Regions from separate parts of the Homo sapiens genome. Here region 2 is linked to region 1. Evidence: promoter capture Hi-C in 16 types of primary human blood cells and fetal thymus (Javierre and others, 2016). All regions are on one chromosome and are shown on one strand. Each heading gives the region's core, a stretch centred on a gene start or on the middle of the fragment in contact. The rest is flanking DNA. Distances are from core to core; before and after follow the strand shown. Region 1 holds the start of RPS6KA2-AS1 (RPS6KA2 antisense RNA 1). Region 2 holds the start of LOC112267970 (a long non-coding RNA gene).

Region 1 (3,395 bases), core at 579-3,078:
AGGGGGGAGAACGCCGCGTGAATGCACACACGGGAAATAACGCCGTGTGAACACACAGCGGGGAGAACGCCGCGTGAACGCACACAGGGGAAATAACGCCGCGCGAACACACAGGGGGAAGAACGTCACAGGGACGCACAGTGGGGAAACGCCATGTGAACGCACAAAGAAAGAACGCCACGTGAACTCGCACACGCGGGGAGAACGCCGGGGAAACGCACACAGTAAAGAGAACGCAGTTTGAACGCACAGGGGAGAGAACGCCACGTGAACACACAGAAGGGAGAATGCAGTGCGAACACACAGAAGGGAGAACACCTGGTGAAGGCACAGAGGGGAGAACGCCGAGCGAACGCACAGGGTGGAGAATGCCATGTGAACGCACAAAGAAAGGAGAACCCCTGGTGAACGCACACAGGAGAAAGAATGCCGAGGAACGCACAGAGTAAAGAGACCGCCGTGGGAACACACAGGGGAGAGAACGCCACGTGAACACATGGGGAGAACGCCGCGGGAACACACAGAAGGGCGACCGCCTGGTGGATGCACAGAGGGGAGAACGCCAGGGGAACACACACAGGGGAGAACGCTGGGCGATCACACAGGGTGGAGAACGCCGGGTAAATACACACTGGGGAAAACGCTGTGCAATCGCATAGAGGGAAGAACGCCGGGTGAACACACAGGGTGCGTTCTTCCATCATGCGGCTGCGCCTGAGTCTCTGAGTCTACTCTGGCTTAGAAGGCTGCCTGATTCGCAAATTGTTTATTGCTCAATTACATGCTTTTAAATTTAATTCAGCTGAAGTGTTTCTTTTCTCACGGCCCACCCACTAGATGTGGCTCTGTCACTGGTGCTGGCCAGTGGGGCGTGGAGGGACCGGTGTCCTTCCCAGCACAGACACAAGGAAGCGGCTGTGCCTTCTCCACACTCTTCTCCCTGACTCTTGGCTACAGCTGTAAACCCAGGGTTAGATTCAGGGGCCTGTGACCTCCAATGGGAAAACAACTGCATTATTTGTACCTCATATTTAGTATTTCCATCAATTATGAGTGTAGGCAAAAAAGCACAGTAGCTTCAGCAGGACTGGTGTTTTGCTGGCAGTACAAAACATTTTCATATCCTATTCCTTGCTGTCTTGTGTTTTCTTTAATGTGTTAAAAAATCTTATTCTGAGACCATCAGGCCACTGGAAGGGGTTCATGGCACAAAAAAAGATGCAGCCCAGCAATAAGGTGAAAGAGAGATGACGGAGCCACTGGACACAAGAAGCCTTGCACCCTGAGTCACCCCGTGGAGCACTGACGAGCCTCGGCTCCTGATTCATTATGCGGAGTGCTGCCTAGTACCAGGAGCAACAGCACTGGACAGGGACATGAGTAAGAAATAAAACTTCCAGAGCGTGAAGCTAGTGAAATGATGGGATGTGTTTATCACAGGGCTAGCATCATCCTAACCAGCATGGAGACATGCGGGGCTGTGAACGGGAGCCTAGAGCTGCAAATTAGACAAGCCTGGGCCAGGAGACCTTTTGCAGGCTGCAAAGCTGCTCTCTCCTTTGCCTCCTCTGTACCTCAAAGGACCTGGGGTGGTGAAGGGAGTTGTGGGCCGACCTGAGTCAGCCTGAACAGGCTGTTCCTTCAGCAGATTCCTCAAGCTCTGCCCCGGCCCCTTCCTCGGCCCACCCCAGCTTGCCCTCCAAGGGGTATTATCACTGTGACCCTCGTCTCCTCCTCCTGTTCAGGCTTTGCCTTGGCAGCGCAGCAGTGCCCCTCTGCAAAGGGGTCTCGCATGCTGTTCAGCAGCTCTCTTCCCGCCACAGCGATGGGCAGCCGGATCCCAGCTGGAACTCCGCCACATCCCAGGAATGTGAATACCAGTGGAATCCGGATAGGACGGTGTGACCCAGGCACAGTGGGTGAGAACCGGAGCTTGGCTAGCAGGCAGGGGTTCAGCTGCTTCCTGACCTGTGCCCTGGCACCTCTGACCTGGCCGGAGCTTCTCAGGCAGTGACCACTGCTGAAACTTTGAGACCCCAACATGTGTGGGAGCATTTCTAAGCCTTCCTTGCATGGACACACTCCTCCCTAACGCTGTCCCATTTTCCAGACAGGGTCTCACCCACCCCGCACTGCTGCCCCCAGTGCTTTGATTCAGCCCCTCAGCTGTGAATGGAGTTGGTTCCTCATATGAGATCTCAATAAGACTATGGTGGGAGTCGGCGTAGAGCAGGGAAAGCCTGGACTTTCTGCCAGAAGGTCGGGGTGGGGCAGTGCAGGCCACGGCACCTCCCGGCTCTGTGCACAGGGTGGGCCACCCCAACCCGGCTCCTCACACTTCACGGCATGCAGCAGCCTCCTGGGCCCTGGGAACATGCAGACTCTGAGCAGCAAGACTGCGCAGGACCCGACATTTGCATTTCTAAACAGCTCCCAGGGGACGCCAATGCTGCGGGCTGAGGCCCACGCTGGAGGAACACCGGCCAGTGGGCAGCTTTGGGTGAACTTCAGAGTGGGTGGAAGCGCAGCTGCCCCGCCTGCCCCCACGGCTGCTGCGCGATCAGGAAACACAGCACACTCCTAAGTGAGTCGTCACCATGGTGACTTTTGGATTCCCACTGCCAGTTCCTGTGGAGTCAGAGAGATCTTAGCTCAGAAGTGCTGACAGCAGGGGCTGGCTGGCCACTGGCCACATGGGAAGAGGAGAAAGGCAGCAGGAGCCACCGTGAGGCAAATGAGCTACAAGACGCCGCTCCGTCTGATTTCCCGCCACAGCTCCCAACACAGGTGAAATGGCTCAGAACAGCTCAGCATGTCCTACTGAGGGGCAGGAAGGATGCTGAGAAAATCCCAGGCAGCGGTCTCAGCTGGGATGTAATTTGAGGGCGAAAAAGTTGTGTTGCTTGCGGTTTCTTCCTTGCTCCTTGCAGGTTATATTTGAAATGAATGTCAGAGCCATGCGGCCGCTGCCAACTAATTCCCAGCTAAGAAGGTAAACACCAGCATCACCTGGGTCTTCTGGTCTACCTGATTCTGCAGCTCAGAGGGAACCATGCAGCTGGCAAAAATGACAGCGAGGGCAGGACTATGACCCAATTAAAGGAATGTGAGTTAAAACATGGGGAGCCAAACACCCAAATTCCAGCCTGATCCTAACTGTATGTAGGCATTAAACCCTTATGCTGTCATTCCCACCACCGAGTAGAAAGTGTGGCACGTGGCTTTGTATCACTGTAAATATGATTCTATTTTACTGGCCTTCAGCCTCCCTCCTTTTGCTCACAGCCTTTACTGCAGCCAGCAGAGAGGGGCACTGCCTCCAGCACAGCCCAAGCGAGCTGGCTTTCCATGGAGGCTCGAAAGGGCTCCCTGTCTCCTGCACACTCACATGGCTT
Region 2 (3,334 bases), core at 750-3,249, 240 kb after region 1:
CTGACTTATTTAAGCAATAACCTTTTAAACATTTTAGCTAAGATGTATAAAAATGTTTCCAAAATATACCACATACTTTATTTCTTCTTAAATGTAGTACATTAGGTTACATCATTTTTCTTGCTGTCTTGGGCATCAAAACAGGTGCCATGGTAACCTGACACTCTCAGGAGACATTAAGATAGAAGGGGCTGTTCTTCAGTGGTTCCCATTGATTCTCCCCATATCTTTTTGCTCTCAGGCTCTGGCCGTCTCTTCCTGAGCCTTAACTGTGTCTGCCGTTAGTCCTCCTCTCCACTCATTGCAAACATTATTCTATATGTTTGGTGGGGACATCAGCTATCTGCGCTTGTCAGAATTGTCTATTAATAGGGGCAATGTGTTAGAACCTCCAAGTATTCAATTATTTCTGGATACGTGAGATCTTACTGTATGTAAATCTCAACATTTAGGTACTTAAGTATTACCTTGCAAACTGTACGTGATTTGCTTCTCAGGACAGACAGACTGGATTTTAAATGAGGCCAGAAAAACACAATATTTTCAAATCCTTTTAAGACTTGTGGTGATGTGTGCAAATTACAGGCATTCTGGAGATATGTGTACAGAGAATGTGGTCTCAATGAACGCAGTGTACATGCTATAGTCTGCTAGGACATTAGTTTGCTGGGGCTGCCCTAACAAAATACTACAGACTGAGTGGCTTAAACAACACATTTATTTCTCACATTTTTAGAGGCTGGTTAAGGTGTTGGCAGGGTTGGTTTCTCCTGAGGCCTCAAATGGCTTTTCCTCTGTGAGCTGACGCTTCTTATAAGGACACTAGTCAGATTGGATTACAGCCCACCGAAAAGGCCCTTTTAACTTAATCACCGGTTTAAAATCCCAGTCTCTAAATATCACAACTTTCTGAGATACTGAGGGTTGGGACTTTGACATATGAATTTTAAGGGGACACCATCCAGCCCCTAACATCTATTTCCCTGAAGGTGGGGCATATTTTCCTATTAAAGTTAACCTGAAACATGTGAGAATTTCTTTGTACATACTTTCCGCCTTTCCAATAAGTTATGTTCCAAACATTCATTCCCATTTCGGCTTTTCAGGTGCAGACCTCACAGAGAGATGACAGAGAAGGGTTGTGGTCCCCAGTGAGACAACGCCTGCCTATCTAACCTGCACAGCCTTGAGCTCCAGCACCCACCCGTGCACAGCCTTGAGCTCCAGCACCCACCCGTGGTGCAAGTTTCAGTATCTGATCCCAGTGGTTCACCTACTGCCCTGACCTCTGCCCTGAGGTGTGGCATCTCCTCCCTTCCCAGTTCTCTGACAGGGAAGTGGGGAATTTCCCCAAGTCTGAGTGGCCTCCATATTCAAAGCAGAGACATCCCCCTCTCAGCTGTGGACCTAGGGATGGTGATCTCAGCTGTGGCAGCAGAAAGCAGCTGTGATAGCCCAGGGGAGGCCAGGCCCTATTCTGCCCCCTATTTGTATAAACAGAGCATTCAAGGCTCATGACTTCAGCGGGGCTCTCTGTTGTCTTAATCTCATTCTTGGGGCACATTCTCCTGTAGGACACAGAAGGAGGTGGCATTTTACATTTACCATTAGATGATTTGAGTCATTGCAGCCTCACAGCACAGCTGCCCTGATGCATTCTACATTCTGCTGGCTGCTGTGTGGAGAACCTGACATGTTCATGGTCTTTGTGCTCAGGGATTTCACGGAATAAAGAGGCTGCAGCATTCGGATGAAGGCCACCCTCGCTCTGGCATGTTTGCAGAGCTTGGGGTGGTCTGCATTCTACATTCCGCTGGCTGCTCTGAGAATCTGATGCACTCAGTCTTTGTGATCTCACAGAATAAAGAGGCTGCAGCATTCGGACGAAGGCCCCTCGCTCTGGTGTGTTTGCAGAGCTCAGGGTGGTTTGCTGTGACCTGATTTCATGCTTATGACTCAGTATGCACAGCTGCAATCTTCTTCCTTGTGTTGCATTTGCCAATAGCATGATATTCCTGATGCCTTATTTAGGTAAATCCATATAAGAGCTAAGGCAGGAACGATTTATTTTCTACTTCTTGGCTGATTCCTCTCTTCATTGAGAGTCCAGGTGGACAGTCAGGAATGATGGGCAGAGTGCTGTTCTCCTCACCTCGAGGCTGTCCTCAGCACAAGGGAGCTGTTGTACCTCCTTCCAGCCCATTTCCATTCTAGACAACAAGAAGCAGGATGCGGGAAGCAGGTGGCCTTAAAGACACAACTGGAAAGCTGTGGAAATCATTTCTGCTCCCAAGGTGGGAGCCTTCACTTAGTCACATGGTTACAGCCAGGTGAAAGAAAGTCTGGGATGCTCTTCAGCGGGTGGCCGTGTGTCCATGTGCACGCAGTAATCACAAACACACCATGTAAGAAGGGGGAGAGATACTGAGAAAACCACTTTCATGGAGGGGAGGCAGCCGGACTCCTCTCTTTAACCAGAGGGGAGGGTCTGCATCTCCCCAGCTGTAGGTAAGCGGTAGCCGAGGCAGCCCACTAGGCCAAGGCCACTCAGGAGATATGGCTGGCCCTGTGCAGCAAGTCTAGGGTCACCTGGGATGCGCCCTGTACACAGGGGCCTCTTCTCCTGTAGCCCACTAATAATTACCACAGTGCCCACAGCCGGTCCATCTAAATGTTCAGAATACTGTATTTAGAATTAGTGTTAACATTTGAATAAGGTTTCATTTTTCTGCCTAACATTGAAAGATGAACTGGATTCTTGGATGTCACATAACATTTTGGGGTCCCCTTTCTGAACCTAGAATGTAAATAGATGAGCTAGCACTTCTCTTCACGCCAGTGGGGAGCAAATGCGATTCCTAAAGTCCTGGCTTCACCAGGAGCCGAGCTCCTGAGCCTTCCAGGGGTGCCTCTGCCCTGGACAGGGCGCTGCTGCCCTCTGGTGCGCGAGCCGCCTCCCAGCGCCTGCACCTGCTCCTGGAGACGCTCACCTTCCCGGCTGTTGCCCTAATTCTGCAACGTGTCAAAGGACAAATGTCACATGTATGTCTTAGCGGGGAAACTCTACAGTTTATTTTGGATAATAAGTATGTGAAATTAATACAATCTTATACTATCTTCTTGCACCCGTGGCGTAAAATCTTCAGAAAAATATCACTGCACTATTGCTGCTGTTCATTTTTCTCCTTGTTGCTTTTAACATTCACAATAGTAGATTGGCTCTTTCCTTTTTATTTTATTTTATTTTTTTGCTATGTGAACATATACATAGCAGAATAAATATATGTATAAATCAGGAAATACAGCATCTATATATTTTTATGGCAGATAATGT

The links. Contacts are between HindIII fragments. The CHiCAGO score rates a contact against its expected background, and 5 or more counts as called.
Region 2: a fragment that was not itself captured here is called in contact with the fragment with the promoter of RPS6KA2-AS1 in region 1 in 1 of 17 cell types (non-activated CD4 T cells); the score reaches 5.1 in non-activated CD4 T cells.

What each region holds. Positions count from the first base shown.
Region 1 is chr6:166,901,870-166,905,264 of GRCh38, forward strand. RPS6KA2-AS1 (RPS6KA2 antisense RNA 1) reads left to right here and starts at 1,829. Exons shown (of 2, transcript NR_046644.1): 1 at 1,829-1,919; 2 at 2,431-3,200. RefSeq lists enhancers at 1-413, 1,584-2,265, 2,266-2,946. The HindIII fragment of the contact is 22,454 bases long and covers 1-3,395 here.
Region 2 is chr6:167,139,422-167,142,755 of GRCh38, forward strand. LOC112267970 (a long non-coding RNA gene) reads right to left here and starts at 1,930. Exons shown (of 2, transcript XR_002956379.2): 1 at 1,606-1,930; 2 at 1-1,114. RefSeq lists an enhancer at 3,307-3,334. The HindIII fragment of the contact is 4,784 bases long and covers 1-3,334 here.